Regions from separate parts of the Homo sapiens genome. Here regions 2, 3, 4 and 5 are each linked to region 1. The links are contacts of gene promoters, found by promoter capture Hi-C in blood cells and fetal thymus (Javierre and others, 2016). All regions are on one chromosome and are shown on one strand. The core of a region is centred on a gene start or on the middle of the fragment in contact, and the rest is flanking DNA. Distances in the headings are between cores, read along the strand shown. Region 1 holds the start of SPHK1 (sphingosine kinase 1). Region 2 overlaps FBF1 (Fas binding factor 1). Region 3 overlaps FBF1 (Fas binding factor 1). Region 4 overlaps ACOX1 (acyl-CoA oxidase 1). Region 5 has its middle 7.1 kb from the start of EVPL.

Region 1 (2,930 bases), core at 431-2,930:
GGGCGGACGGATCTGGTCCTGGGCTCCCGCGCGGAGCCCCCTCCTCCCACAGCCGCCGCTCGCGTCCCCGCAGCGCATGACCGCGGCACTGCGGCTGCAGGGCTCTCTCCCCCGCCCGCGCCGGATTCCTGGAGCAAGGGGGTGGGGGGCTCGGAGGTGCAGGACCCATCATTCCGACACGCGCCGCGACGCCAGGAGTCGGGGATGACGCCCCTGCTCCCTCCCCTCGTTCCTGTTTCTCGGAGTTTTTCGACCCCTGAGCGCGTCGCTGAGTCACCTTCCCGGAACGCGCTCGGGACGCTCTGGACCCAGCGGGGACTGCCCGGGGGCCGCGCAAGGCGAAGGCGCACCCGCCGATACGCGCGCGGAGCTGCGGCCCCAGGGACCCCGCGTCCCAGCCAGTGCCCCCCGACCCGCCCGGGGACTCTCGGGTCCCGCCCGTCTGACCCCCCAAGTGTTGGGAAACGGGGCCGAGCTGCCTGGGTCCTCCGGAAGAGAAGACACCGCGGAGGCGTGCCGGAGTTCAGGGCGCCGCCCGGCTAATTGGCTGCGTGCTCCTCCTGGACCTGCCTCTTCTCGACTTTAAGAAGCGATGAGAGAGGTGTGTGGGGGCGGGTGGGGCCGGCGGGGGCGCGCGAGCCCCGCAGCCTCCCGCAGGGGCTTGGTTTCTCCTAACTCTGGCCCTACCTGGGCAGGTCACCAATGGGCCTTGGCAACTTCTTCCTCCGTCTCCGCCGTAACCCCCCAGGGATCTAACTCGAGGTGCTCGCGGACACGTTCTGTGGCTTGCCGCGATAAGTGTATCACAAACACACTGACAAACGCGTCCCTACTGGCCTCCAAAGAAGTGACAACTTCTGAGCGCGTTTCCGGCGCCCCTTCTTCACGCTGAGCCAGAGGGGGCGGGGGGCACGTACCACATGCTTGGCTTTCCAATCCCGACGGGGGCCCCCAGGCCCATCTACACTGTCAAGCCTCCTCTCCGGCTCGGAGCCCCCGGCCTGTCGCCTGCTCTACCCGGGACAGCGCGCTAGGCGGCCTCAGGCTCGGTAGCCCAGCTGCAGCGTCGGGAAGTTAAAAATAACCTCCGTGGGAGCGCGGGGGAGGAAGAAAGAGGGAAGCTGGTGGGCGGCGGGCGAGACGCCCCGGCCTGGAGAGGCGCCCCGGGTGGCGTGCGGGCCTCGAATTTCGGGTGGGCTAGGGCAGAGCGCGCAAAAGGGGCGCTGCATCCCGGCGCCGACAGCACCCGCGGGGGCGAGGTCGTGGCGTCGAGGTGAAACCAAGGGTCCCCCGGGAGAGCGGAGCCGCGCGCGCCCGGCGCTCGCTCCGACACGAGTTCGCGCGGAGCCCGCGCCTCCGTCTGCGCTGCGCGGTCGCTTTCGCGCGCCCCAGACACTGCGCTCGCGGCCGGGCCCGGGACTCCGCGCCTCGCGGCCTGCCGCCTCAGCTCACCCGGCCAGGTCGCGGCGCCGCCTTCTAGCCAGACGCCTAGGACGAGCGGCGGGGGCGCGCTTGCCGCTTCCTAGGACCCGGGCGGGAACCAGCTCGTGGCCCGGCCGTGGGCGCGGGCCGTGCCGGAGGCGGCGCGCTGAGGCCGGAGGCGGGCAGAGGCCGAGGCCGCGCCGGGCTCAGGTTCCACCCCCGGGAGCGCGGGGCGGAGCCAGGCCGGCGCCGAGGCTCAGTGCCCTCCCCGCTCCGCGGCGCCGGCTGCGAAGTTGAGCGAAAAGTTTGAGGCCGGAGGGAGCGAGGCCGGGGAGTCCGCTCCAGCGGGGCGCTCCAGTCCCTCAGACGTGGGCTGAGCTTGGGACGAGCTGCGTTCCGCCCCAGGCCACTGTAGGGAACGGCGGTGGCGCCTCCCCAGCAAACCGGACCGACTGGGTAGGGCCGCCCACCCTGCCTTCGCGCCGCTCGTGGCTCCTGTGCGGCCCGCCCTCGCGGGGCCCCGGGAACTGGGCCACTTGTCGCTTGGGCGAGAGCAGGCGGCAGCTGGTGGCCCGGTTCGGGCTTGGCTTTGGCGCGACCCGGGAGCGGCTCCCACGAGCGCCGCGCGCGTCGCAACGGAGCGGGGCCCTGAGAAGCGCGCGCCGCGGCTCCCACCGCTCTGGAGCTCCGGGCAGGGGACACGGCAACCTGGATGGCTGGGGCAGGGATCCTCTCCCAGAACTTCGTGCCCAGCAATGTCCGCTCAAGTTCTGGGATTTTTACGCAGCTGGACTCCCCTCCCCCTGGCAGCCCCGAGGGGTGAGGAGCTAGTCCGTCGGAGGGAGCCACGGGGCTCTGACTCATCCGTCGGGCCGGAACCGAACCCCAAGCCCCAGGGAGAAAGCCCCGGAGCAGGCGCCCTTCTCAGGGATTGTAGGCTTAGTCACACGGCGGGGGCGCCCTCGGAGGCACCGGACCTCAGCTCTCTGGACTTCCCGGGAACCTGGCTCCCCGCGCGTGGTCCCGGGATTTAGTCGGGCGCTCCCCACCTCTGGCAGCTGCGGCCCCGGACTCCGCCAGCGCTGTCTTCTCTCCCTCAGGTCCAGCCGCCGCAGGGAATGACGCCGGTGCTCCTGCAGCCACGGCTCCGGGCGGGGAAGGCGAGCCCCACAGCCGGCCCTGCGACGCCCGCCTGGGCAGCACCGATAAGGAGCTGAAGGCAGGAGCCGCCGCCACGGGCAGCGCCCCCACAGCGCCAGGGACCCCCTGGCAGCGGGAGCCGCGGGTCGAGGTTATGGATCCAGGTTTGTGGGGTTCCTGCTGGGAAGGGCTGTAGGGGGATTCCTGTTCCTCGCCAGGAATGATGGAACGCCCAGCTGGACGAAAGGGGCTGTGGACGATCGGGAGAAACATTATCCCTCACGAGGCCAGAAGCCGGCCGAATCTGAGCCAAGGAAGGGGGTGGCAGGGGCGCCGCGTCCCCACCCCAGGTCTCCCAGCAAAGGCCG
Region 2 (2,930 bases), core at 171-2,670, 470 kb before region 1:
TGCCCTCAGACAAATTTGCCCTGAAAAGTTGCACGTCTTTAACAAGATATGCAAAGCCCTCTCATTCTAACCTCTTCTCCCTACTCTGTCTTGAAGGCCATGCTCTCCCCCTGTGGGTCTCCCAGCACCGCCCTCCCCGATGTATGTGCTTGATCACCTGCAGGTCCTGCAGGTGGCTGCCTAGATACCAGCTGCCCCTGGGCCGACGTGCCCATCCTTAGACCCCCCCAGCTCTTTGCACAGGTCTGCCTCAGGACTGGTTGAGTCTCTTTTGTGGAGAATCAAATTTGAGACTTAACCAAGGCTTCCAATGGGGCATGTGATACTTCCCTCCTCAGTGTTGGTACCAGCCCCAGAAGCGCCTGAAAAGATCTTCCTCCCACACCAGCACCTACCAGGAGTGTAGCCTGCTCCTCTGGGAGGTAGGAGAGCGGGGTGGCTGACAGCGTGGAGCTTGGGGATTGGCCAGAGCAGAACTCAAATCCAGGCGCAGCTACTCACTGTCATTTCAGGCAGGTTATTTAATCTCCCCGGGCCTCAGTTTCTGCATGTTTGAAGCAGGGCTAATAGTACCCTTCTCCTGGCTGTGGTCCAGCTGCCAGGTGCCACCGCAGACCGCAGGTGCTGGAGGGGAGAGGCACGTGGCCAGAGGCGCCTGGTCCTGACCAATCTTATAGGCTGATCTTTTAATAAGAACATCTGCCTGTTCTTTGGGACTTGTCCAGCAAATAACAGGAAACATTTTCTAAGAAATAAGTATAAACTCCGATGAGCCATGGCAAAAGCAGTTTTTTTAAGCTTAGTCAAGTTGAAGCAGCGGGAGTGGAGGAGGATCAGAGAAACCTCTGTAGTTGTGATTGGTTCCTTGTCGCCTCCACTGCGTACCCGCTGAGCTGGGCTTTGGGCAGGTGAGCAGCACAGAGGCTTCCCTCCTCGTCCCTCCCCACACCCCACCATCGCCACAGCTCCCTCCGCCGCCGGTGGGGCACCCAGATGGGGAGGAAGCTGAGGAGGCCACTGTTCACCCAAACTGGTTGGTCCTTCGGGCAATGCTGGGAATAGGGTGGGGGCTCTGGGCAAGCCCAGGAGGAGGAGGGCCTGGCTGAGTTCCAGGAACATCTCACACCACAAGGGAGGATCTAGCTGGTGCCCTCCCTGTACTGTCAGGAGGCCAGAGGGCCCTTCTCCAGCTCATCAGGGAGGGAACTGCTCTGGCAGGGAGTAGGGAAGGCTGTTTGTGGCATCCCTCAAGAAAGCTCCTGCCTCAGAAGAGGCCCAGGCAAAAAGAGCCCACAACAGTCTACCTGTGGAGCAGGGGGAGCCCACAGAGCCCAGGGGGAGCCCACAGAGCCCAGTGAGAGCTGGGGGTCCTTGCTGCCAACTCAGACCCTCAGATCCAAGCCAATGGCTTTGGGGCAGGGCAGCCAAAGCCATGGTAAGATAGCCTACACCACAGAGCCCCAGAGGCAGGGGCTGCCCCGGGCTGGCACATTTGGAAAGGATGCACTTGCACCCTGTCCACGGAAGAGCTGTCATCAGGCCTCAAGCATCTCAGAATCCTCCCCAGGCACTGCCTCCATGGAGGCAGCCGGAGGAACAGGACAGTTCTGGGGTCCGAACCCTCTGTTGGGGAATCGGCTGGGGTCCCACTCAGGCTGAATGAGATGTCAAATTGTAGGACCCTTTCTTCAGGGTCTCCAGGAAGAACTGTTCATTCTCCAAGAAGTCACGGTCCTGCAAGGCAGGTTTGGATGGGCGGTCACCTTCCCTGAGCTGAGAGGGAGGTGGAGCCCTGGATGCTAGCTGAGCCAGCCGTCACTGAGGCCCCTCCCCACATCGTCCCTGACTCTGCCTGGCTCTGGGAGTCAGCAGGGGCCATGAAAGAGCCCAGGTATGGAGTGAGACAGACCACAGTCTCAATCCTGGCAAGGTTACTTGTTTGCTGTGGAACTTACGAGCACATGACTTCATGTCTCTAAGCCTCAGTTTCCTTGTCTGTAAACATTCCTTGTAGCCCTTCCTTGCAGGGCTGTGTGAGGGTAAAAGCTTAAAAAATACACAAAGCAGGCCAGGCACAGTGGCTCATGCCTGTAATCCTAGCTAATCCGCAGGCCAAGGGGGTAGGATCACTTGAGCCCAGGACTTTGAGACCAGCCGAGGCAACATCGTGAGACCCCATTTCTAAATATAAATAAATAAGTAAAATATAAACAAAGCCTTCGGCATTGAGGTTGGCACACAGGAAATGCTCCATAATGACAACTGTTATCATTATAGTTTTGTTTTGTTTAGTTTGAGACAAGTGCCTTGCTCTGTCACCCAAGCTGAAGTGCAGTGGTGTGAACACACCTGTAGCCTCGACCAGCTGGGCTCAAGCAATCCTCCCACCTCAGCCTCCCAAGTAGCTGGGACTATAGATATGCCCCACCATGCCCAGCTAATTTTTAAATTTTTAATATTTATTTTTTTGAGACAGAGTCTCGCTCTGTTGCCTGGAGTGCAGTGGCACCGTTGTGGCTCACTGCAGCCTCGACCTCCCGGGCTTAAGTGATCCTCTTACCTCAGCCTCCGGAGTAGCTGGGAGTACAGGTGTATGCCACCACGCTCAGCTATTTTTTTGTGGAGACGAGGTCTCACTATGTTGCCCAAGCTGGCCACGAACTCCTGGGCTCAAGTAATCCTCCCACCATAGCCTCCCAAAGTGCTGGGATTACAGGTGTGAGCCACGCACCTGGTCCTCTTTTTTTAGTTTTTCATTTTGTAGAGACGGTGTCTCAACATATTGCCCAGGCTGGTCTCAAACTCCTGGGCTCAAGTGATCCTCCTGCTTCAACCTCCCAAAGTGTTGGGATTACAGGTGTGAGCCACTGTGCCCAGCCTGTTATCATTATTGCTATAGGTTATCATGAGGTTTAACTGAGATGACATAT
Region 3 (2,930 bases), core at 249-2,748, 460 kb before region 1:
GAAACGAGGTAGGAGCTACCTCTGCTTCCTCATCATGAGTCACTCCAGAGACATGGGTTCAGGAGAGGCACAGGCTGCCATAGAGTTCTCCATTTTAACTCACACAGCTTCTCCAGGAGCTGCCCATGTTGGACCCAGAGGGCCTGGAACAGCTCGAGGAAGGGAGGAAACTCAAGCTGTCCCCTTACCCCACCACACACACTCAAACACACACACGCACAAATGCTCCTTGGCCTCTCCATCCTGTGCAGAGAAAACCCAAGGACATGAACGCTTCCTACTAGCATCTTCCACGTCCTCAAAGTCTCCCTAGCAGATGCGAGGAGCCGTCTCCCATGCACCTTTCTCACTGGCTACTGACCCACCTGCAGGCTTGGGGTGGTTGGGCAGCTCTCCTTTCCCAGGGTCCTTTGCAGCTTTTTTGCTAGGGGCTGAATTAGATTTCTTCAGACCTAAGATATCAGCATCCATGCCGTCCAGGTCCTAGAAAACCAGGGAGGGAGGGCAGAGGACTATGTCTGATAAGGGGCTGAGGACTTCCACCTGAGAGAGATGGGCTGTTGGCACCCCAGGTGTAGAATTGTGAGAAAACAAAGGAAAATGAGAAAACTGTTGAGAAAAACAGTGAGTGAAGAAAGAAAATGGAACTAAAGGTAAGCAGGGGGAGGTGGAATGGAGTCCAGCTCATGGTTCTGGGATGAGAGACTCAAAGTCAGCACCAAAAATTGAGTCAGAGGACTTGTGGGTTATGCCCAGGGATCCTAGGTGGCTGGTCTCGGGAAAAAAGCTTTCTTTTTTTTCTTTTTTTAGACAGGATATTGGCCGGGCGCGGTGGCTCATGCCTAGAATCCCAGCACTTTGGGCCGAGGCAGGTGGATCACCAGGTCAAGAAATCGAGACCATCCTGGCCAACATGATGAAACCCTGTCTCTACAAAAAATACAAAAATTAGTTGGGTGTGGTGGTGCACGCCTGTAATCCCAGCTACTTGGGAGGCTGAGGTAGGAGAATCGCTTGAACCTGGGAGGTGGAGGTTGCAGTGAGCCGAGATCATGCCACTGCACTCCAGCCTAGGCAACAGAGCAAGACTCCGTCTCAAAAAAATAAAAATAAATTAAAAATAAAATAAAATAAAGACAGAGTCTCACTCTGTCACCCAGGCTGGAGTGAAGTGGTGCGATCATAGCTCATTGCAGCCTCCAACTTCTGAGCTCAAGTGATCCACCTGCCATGGCCTCCCAAAGTGCTGGCATTACAGGAGTAAGCCACCATGCCAGACTTTTTTTTTTTTTTTGAAGACAGAGTCTCACTCTGTCACCACCCAGGCTGTAGTGCAGTGGTGTGATCATAGCTCATTGCAGCCTCCAACTCCTAGGCTCAAGCGAGCCTACTGCCTCGGCCTCCCAAAGTTCTGGGATTACAGGTGCCTGGCCTTTGAGGAGAAAGATTTCAAGATGAGATTAAAGAAGCTGAATCTGGACCGGGTGTGGTGCCTCATGCCTGTAATTACAGTATTTTGGGAGGCCAAGGTAAGAGAATCGCTTAAGGCCAGGAGTTTAAGGTTGCAATGAGATCACACCACTGCACTCCAGCCTGGGTGATAGAATGCGATGGTGTCTCTAAAAAAAAACCCAAAAAACAAAAATACACAACAAAAACAAGAGCCCCACAGGGCTGTAACCAAAAACGCGGCTTTGTCCTAGGGACTGTGGCAAAATGGGTTAACTAAAAGGGACACAAAACCCCAAGGGTCAGACAGGAAGGTGCTGCTGGCTGGAAGGAGAGGGAGAACAAGGTGTCTTAGGCCAAGCTAGAGATTATGTCCTTACAAATTATTCAGAATCTGTGCCTTAAAAATCCATTGCAAAGATTGGCGCTGGGCTTGATCTGATGAGAAGACAGCAGTATTGAAGGGGGCTTGGCAGGGGATGTGGAGAGAAATATGGAGAAAGATTAAGAACAAGCATTAGAGGAAAGAGTCTCCCCCTCTGTCTTCTAGGTGGAGGTGAGGGGACCCAGCTAGGTGGGCCTCCGAGTAGAGCTGGCCCCGTTTCCCCAGAGGCCTGTGGCACTCTCCACTCTCTATATACCAGGAACACTGGTTGATACTCAGAAAGGCAAGGAGGCCAACGGCTCACAGACGAGTTCCATGCTTGCACGAGGAAGGGCTCAGAAACACAGGTTGTAAAGGGAGAAATTAGAAGGAGAATGAAGCTTTGGTACAAAATATCATGACCCCACCCCACCCACCCCCAGTTCTAAGAATCGTGCAAGCTGTTTCCTTACCTTCATGGCCTGGAGCAGAGCCTGTGGGTCTGCCTCTGAGATACCTGAAACCTAAGTCCACAATGAGGGTGAGGACACAGATGAGGAGGCACATTAGTCAAGGCCCAATAAAACTCAGGGTCCTGGCCCCTTGCTTCTGTTAGGGCAGACGGCGCGGCAGGAGCAGAGCTTGGCCAATGGAGCTTACACAGGAGGGTGGCTTTGTTCCCCTTGCTTGGGCTTGGCAGTTGTTTGAAGCCAAACCTGCCTGGTTTTAGAGACTCAGAGAGCACTGCCATTCCTACTCCTTCCAACCATAGAGAACTCTTCCATCCAGGACTGAAATTCTGCTACTTCCCACCCATGCCAATGGACAGCTATGGAGTTTATAAGGGGAAAGGAGCAACATCTAAGACTCTAGCAGTTTCAGGGAGCTCTCCTTTCCACTCATCTTACTACAGGAAAGAGGATTCTGCTTTGGGTCCACTCGGCAGCCCTTGGGCATTATTTACAGTGGCTCACGCCTGTAATCCCAGCACTTTGGGAGGCCGAGGCGGGTAGATCACTTGAGGTCAGGAGTTTGAGGCCAGCCTGGCCAATGTGGTGAAACCCCGTCTCTACTAAAAATACAAAATTACCTACTAAAAATACAAAAATTATTTTCT
Region 4 (2,930 bases), core at 152-2,651, 420 kb before region 1:
TGTCTCAAAAAAAATAAATAAATAAATAAGAGAGAATTGGCCAGGTGCAGTGGCTCCCACCTATAATCTCAGCACTCTGAGAGGCCGAGGTGGGTGGATCACCTGAGGTCAGGAGTTCAAGACCAGCCTGGCCAACATGGCGAAACCCTGTCTCTACTAAAAATACAAAAATTAAGCAGGCATGGTGGTGCACACCTGTAATCCCAGCTACTCAGGAGGCTGAGGCAGGAGAATTGCTCCAACCCAGGAGGCAGAGGTTGCAGTGAGCTAAGATAACACCACTGCATTCTAGCCTGGGCGACACAGTGAGACTCCATCTCAAAAAAAAAAAAAAAAAGAGAGAGAGAATTTGAAAAGTTGTATAGGGCCAGGCATGGTGGCTCATGCCTGTAATCCTAGCACTTTGGGAGGCTGACGCAGGCGGATCACTTGAGGTCAGGAGTTTGAGACCAGCCTGGCCAACATAGTGAAATCCCGTTTCTACTAAAAATACAAAAAAAAAAAAAAAAAAAAAAGGCCGGGCACCGTGGCTCATGCCTGTAATCCCAGCACTTTGAGAGGCCAAGGTGGGCGGATCACCTGAGGTCAGGAGTTCAAGACCAGCCTGACCAACATGGTGAGACCCCATCTCTACTAAATATACAAAATCAGCCAGGTGTGGTGGCACATGCCTGTAATCCAAGCTACTTGGGAGACTGAGGCAGGAGAACCTGGGAGGCGGTGGTTGCAGTGAGCCGAGATCACACCACTGCACTCCAGCCTGGGCAACAGAGCGAGACTCTGTCTCAAAAAAAAAAAAAAAAAAAAAAAGTTGTATAGAATGGAGAATTTGCTGGGTGTGGTGGCATGTGCCTGTAATCCCAGCTACTTGGGATGCTGAGGCAGAATCGCTTGAAGCCAGGAGTCGGAGAACAGAGAATTTGAGTGGTACTGGTACAAGGATTTCCTCTGATGAGAAAGCGAGACAGAACATAGTAGTTCTCTCAGAGTGACAGTATGACCCCCAGATTATAGTTTTTCCTCGATGCAATTTCAATAATGCTTCTAGGCTGGGATTTTTTTTCTGTTTTGTCCACAAAACATCCAGCGTAGAACCATATTCCTCACATAGCTCTGATCATTTCATTCAGATTCATCATGTCAAATATTCGGCCACGCTCTACTGAAACACTTTAATACAAAAACTGACAGTGCTCTTCATCCCAATAATTTATTTCAGAAATTAAAAAAGACATGCAATTTCTAGTGAAGACCATAATAACGACAAGTTACAGATTCATGCATAAGCTCTCCGTGACAATTATACAGAAATTATCATTAATGATAATAAACAGCTTTATTAGTTTTAAATCAACTTTCTGGGGTCATTCTTTTCCACTTAAAACGTGCAGGGGACAGGATTCTGTGTGAATTTTTGCTAGGGATAGGAAGTCGTTCTATAGGCCTTTGCATTTTTCCACATTACTGGTATTCTGTGTAATTGCCAGCTCCAAATCCGTCAACTCCATATTGCTCTTATCATTCTATGTGTCTTTGAAATGAGCATAAATGACAGTTCAGTTTTTAAATTGCTGTTTGTTCCTTGCAAGGTAGGGAGGAAAAGAACCAGGGCACACTGCTCAGACAAGTGCTAATCAATGACTTCTTCCAATCTAGTGGCTAGGCTTTCAGCTAAGCAATCACACTTTAGAAAAAGAAAAATCAAAGTATGTGTGACTGAATCCCTCATTTTACAGAGGAGAAATTAAGGCTGAGATGAATTAAATGCCTTGCTCAGGGAAAAAAGAAAATGGCAAAACAAGGACAAGAATCTCGTCACCATGGGAGCTGAGCAAGGGGTAAAACATGGACATGCAGAATGGAGTAACAGACACAGGGGCCAGGCGCGGTGGCTCACGCCTGTAATCCCAGCACTTTGGGAGGCCGAGGCAGGGGGATCACCTGAGGTTGGAGTTCAAGACCAGCCTGGTCAACAGGGTGAAACCCCATCTCTACTAAAAATACAAAAACTAGCTGGGCGTGGTGGTGGGTACCTGTAATCCCAGCTACTTGGGAGGCTGAGGCAGGAGAATCACTTGAACCCAGGAGGCAAAGGTTGCAGTGAGCCACGATGGCACCACTGCACTCCAGCCTGGGCGACAGAGACTCTGTCTCGAAAAACAAAAAACAACAACGAACAAAACAGACACTGGAGGCTCCAGAATGTGGAAGGATGGGAGGGGTATGAGGCCTGAAAAGTTACCTACTGGGTACTATGTTCACTATTTGGGCAATGGGTACTGCAAAATCCCAGACTTCACCATTACATAATATATACATGTAAGGAAATGGCACTTGTACCCCCTAAACCTATTTTTTAAAAAAAGAACCACCTTGTCACCTCGTCCTGTCTCCTAGCTGGGGAAATTACTGCACAAGCATAGCATGGACTAAAGACTGTGACTGCAGGCCGGGCGCGGTGGCTCACACCTGTAATCCCAGCACTTTGGGAGGCCAAGGTGGGCGGATCATGAGATCAGGAGATCGAGACCATCCTGGCCAACAAGGTGAAACCCCTCTCTACTAAAAATACAAAAATTAGCCAGGTGTGGCAGCGCCAGCCTCTAATCCCAGCTACTCGGGAGGCTGGGGTAGAAGAATCCTTGAACCCGGGAGGCGGAGGCTGCAGTGAACGGAGATCGTGCCACTGAACTCCAGCCTGGCAACAGAGCAAGACTCTATCTAAAAAAAAAAAAAGACTGTGACTGTAATGAAGATGCTAAAAAGACATGCTGAAAAAGCCAGGGCTGTCCTTAGAAGCCTCAAAAATGGAAATCCCACAAGGTGTCACCACTGGTAGAGACTCCGTGACGGGTTCACAGGGTTTCCTGGTACTATTTTTGTAACTTCCTATGACTCTACAATCATTTCAAAATTAAAAAAAAAAAAAG
Region 5 (2,930 bases), core at 181-2,680, 350 kb before region 1:
CCTAACCAGACAAGAGTGGGGAGGAACAGGTGCTAGTGATTCCTTTTGGGACTTTTACGGGGAAGGTTTAGAGGAAGCAACTACCAAAACTCCAAAAAACAGAAAACAACCAAATCTTGTGTGTGTTAAGAGAGCAGGCAGGATTCCTCATACTAAATGGCAAGAAAGAGAACATAGAGGGAACCCCTGGAATCCTCAAAACCAAGGCTGCCTTAGGGTATCTGTCCCTCCCTCTGAACCATCCCCTTTCCCTGGGAGAAAGGGGACCCACAGCACCAGCCCCAGTTCAGCTGTAGGACTGATGCTGGTGCAGCCCACTCCCCAGCCCCTGCAGCCATCTCGTGCATGAGCCATCCCTGCATTCCAGAAGTCTGCAGCCCAGCCAGTCTTACTCAGGAACTGGTAGGCCCAAGGGCTCTGGGCCTCTCTGCCACCTTTAAGATAATAGCTGTCCTTACTAGCTAGGTCCGGGGACCTGCAGCCCTATTTTGGAGAAGTGCGGATGTGACGGAGGCAGCCAGCTAACTGTCCATGCCAAGATAATGACCTGCGTTGCCGCTTGAGAAAATGTCCCACCGGCTGCACCACAGCAGCAGGGGTCTGGTGGCATCTGGCACTGTTCACTGTTCAGAGGGAGAAAAAGGTTTATAAAACAGACAAACATGAAAACGAAGGAACAAGAAGTTCTCATAGCTGCCTGATTTGTCTCTATTGTCAGGAAGCTGGAAAGGGGAGGTTAAACCACCCAGCACAGACAGCAGCTAGTCAGACCCAAACTATTGTCTGAATGGCATTGCATAGACTTAGGAGGACTTCCTGGGAAGGGGAAGACAAGGACGCAGGCTGGCTGAGTGGAAGGCTCTCTCAGCTATGTGTACCCATCGACTCAGGGTACAGCAGCCCACACTGTCTTGGGGTCTGGGCTCAGAACATTTTGGGGGAACCTCCTCACTGTCTCCTCCCAGCAACTTTGAGACGCAGCCGCCCCTGTTGTACAGGAGCTGGAGTGTGCTCAGAGGCAATGGACTAGTCAGTGTGGGGCAGGGATCCAGGAGCTCGGAGGACCCTGGGCACCTGCTCTCTCTGCCTCACACCTCTTCTTAGGCAGCATGGGAGGCACTGCCTGGTGAGGCCTTTGCACAGCCACGTCTGTCTCCATTCCACAGATGAGCCGCAGCTAACGTTACTCAGCTTTCACTGGCCCAGGTACCTGCCCGTCATAGCTGGATTGCTAGGTCAGAAGATCCCTGGGGAAGCACTTTGGGGGGCCGAAGCTGCGGATCACCTGAGGTCAGGAGTTCGAGACCAGCCTATCCAACTTGGTGAAACCTCGTCTCTACTAAAAATACAAAAATTAGCTGAGCATGGTGGCACATGCCTGTAATCCCAGCTACTCAGGAGGCTGAGGCAGGAGAATCACTTGAACCCGGGAGGCAGAGGTTGCAGTAAGCTGAGATCGTGCCATTGCACTCCAGTGTGGGCAACAAGAGTGAAACCTCATCTTGGAATAATAATAATAATAATACTTCTACTGGATGCTTGTAGAGCCCCTCACTCTGTGCCAGATGGTGCTCAGAGCAGAGGGTGGACCCAGAGGCCAGGGCCTATCTACTGTGTGCAACCCGCACAGCCTGCCACCCCAGCTGGCCCTGGGCGGTGCCCCCAGCCACAGCCCCTCCCAGGTCCTCCTCCCAAGTGTCTCTAACATCTAACAGAATAACAGGTTGGATTCTTCCAGTTGGTGTTGTCAGGATGCAGGCAATTTCCAATTTATTCTCTTTGCTTTGGAACATCGATAAATTTTACAGCTAAATCTGCTTTCCATCTCCTCTGTAGCAACAACTGTCTTCAAACAAAAAATTAGAACCAACACATATTTTTGCTATCTTTGGATATTTTCCTAGACCTCTAAATGTCCCAGGCTTTTCAAGGCTGCAGACAGAATTGTGCTGTTTAGAATTCTGTGATCAGTTGGCTTTTTTGTGTGTGACTAACGACACCTCGTATGTGAAAAATTAGCGCTGCCACAGCGATGACAGTGAACAGAGCACAGTCCCACCCTCAAAGCCCCTGGCGTTGGCCTTCCTCTCCTAGAGGGGGTGAAGCCTCTGCCTCAGCTTTTGGGAGGAAAGTCCTGGCTCTGGCCCAGAGCCGCTATGGGTTGAGGATGGCCTGTCATCACAGGCTGTCACCTTGTGCTTGTGGTGACAGGCTCAGGTTGCCACCAGGGGAAGGGGTCGGAACCAAGCCCAGCACCGTTTCATTTCAAAGAGGGAATCCAAGAGTTCTCACTGATTTAATGTAAAACCAGAGAGGAGACAGCAAATCCAAACAACATTCGGGAAGAGAGGAACAGGCCAGGAGACCCAGCAGCAAAGGCCAGTGCCATCCTCAGCCACCTCGTGCTCCTGACCCTCACCCAGCAGGCCTGGTGGGGCTTGCCTGGAACAGAGAATAGAAACTATGATCACATAGGCCAGGCGTGGTGGCTGACGCCTGTAATCCCAGCACCTTGGGAGGCTGAGGCGGGTGGATCACGAGGTCAGGCATTTGAGACCAACCTGGCCAATAGAGTAAAACCCCATCTCTACTAAAAATACAAAAAATTAGCTAGGCGTGGTGGCGCATGTCTGTAATCCCAGCTACTCGGAAGGCTGAGGCAGGAGAATCGCTTGAATGGGAGGCGGAGGTTGCAGTCAGCCAAGATCACACCACTGCTCTCCAGCCCGGGCGACAGTGTCAGACTCCATCTCAAAAAAAGAAAAGCCCAGGTGCGGTGGCTCATGCCTGTAATCCCAGCACTTTGGGAGGCTGAGGCGGGTAGATCATGAGGTCAGGAGTTTGAGACCAACCTGGCCAAAATGGTGAAATCCCCATCTCTACTAAAAATACAAAAATTAGCTGGGCGTGGTGGTGGCCACCTGTAATCC

The links. Contacts are between HindIII fragments. The CHiCAGO score rates a contact against its expected background, and 5 or more counts as called.
Region 2: a fragment that was not itself captured here is called in contact with the fragment with the promoter of SPHK1 in region 1 in 4 of 17 cell types (naive CD4 T cells, erythroblasts, activated CD4 T cells and 1 more); the score reaches 6.1 in naive CD4 T cells.
Region 3: a contact is called between a fragment that was not itself captured here and the fragment with the promoter of SPHK1 in region 1, in 3 of 17 cell types (activated CD4 T cells, naive CD8 T cells and total CD4 T cells). The highest score is 5.8, in activated CD4 T cells.
Region 4: a fragment that was not itself captured here is called in contact with the fragment with the promoter of SPHK1 in region 1 in 1 of 17 cell types (non-activated CD4 T cells); the score reaches 5.5 in non-activated CD4 T cells.
Region 5: a contact is called between a fragment that was not itself captured here and the fragment with the promoter of SPHK1 in region 1, in 2 of 17 cell types (total CD4 T cells and activated CD4 T cells). The highest score is 5.6, in total CD4 T cells.

What each region holds. Positions count from the first base shown.
Region 1 is chr17:76,382,929-76,385,858 of GRCh38, forward strand. It overlaps SPHK1 (sphingosine kinase 1), which reads left to right and starts at 1,681. Exons shown (of 6, transcript NM_001142601.2): 1 at 1,681-1,878; 2 at 2,523-2,726. The coding sequence starts at 2,717. RefSeq lists silencers at 319-608, 629-768, 1,349-2,048. The HindIII fragment of the contact is 9,575 bases long and covers 1-2,930 here.
Region 2 is chr17:75,909,073-75,912,002 of GRCh38, forward strand. FBF1 (Fas binding factor 1) reads right to left here. Exons shown (of 30, transcript NM_001319193.2): 30 at 502-1,734. The coding sequence ends at 1,651. Among named protein-coding and RNA genes, the nearest start is that of MRPL38, 5.7 kb to the left of the region's middle. RefSeq lists a silencer at 1,791-1,951. The HindIII fragment of the contact is 1,248 bases long and covers 797-2,044 here.
Region 3 is chr17:75,927,711-75,930,640 of GRCh38, forward strand. It overlaps FBF1 (Fas binding factor 1), which reads right to left. Exons shown (of 30, transcript NM_001319193.2): 7 at 2,287-2,337; 8 at 366-483. Among named protein-coding and RNA genes, the nearest start is that of FBF1, 12 kb to the right of the region's middle. The HindIII fragment of the contact is 1,427 bases long and covers 786-2,212 here.
Region 4 is chr17:75,960,973-75,963,902 of GRCh38, forward strand. The region is part of intron 2 of ACOX1 (acyl-CoA oxidase 1); the gene reads right to left. Among named protein-coding and RNA genes, the nearest start is that of ACOX1, 17 kb to the right of the region's middle. The HindIII fragment of the contact is 6,369 bases long and covers 1-2,930 here.
Region 5 is chr17:76,032,977-76,035,906 of GRCh38, forward strand. No RefSeq gene overlaps it. Among named protein-coding and RNA genes, the nearest start is that of EVPL, 7.1 kb to the left of the region's middle. RefSeq lists an enhancer at 1,019-1,626. The HindIII fragment of the contact is 7,176 bases long and covers 1-2,930 here.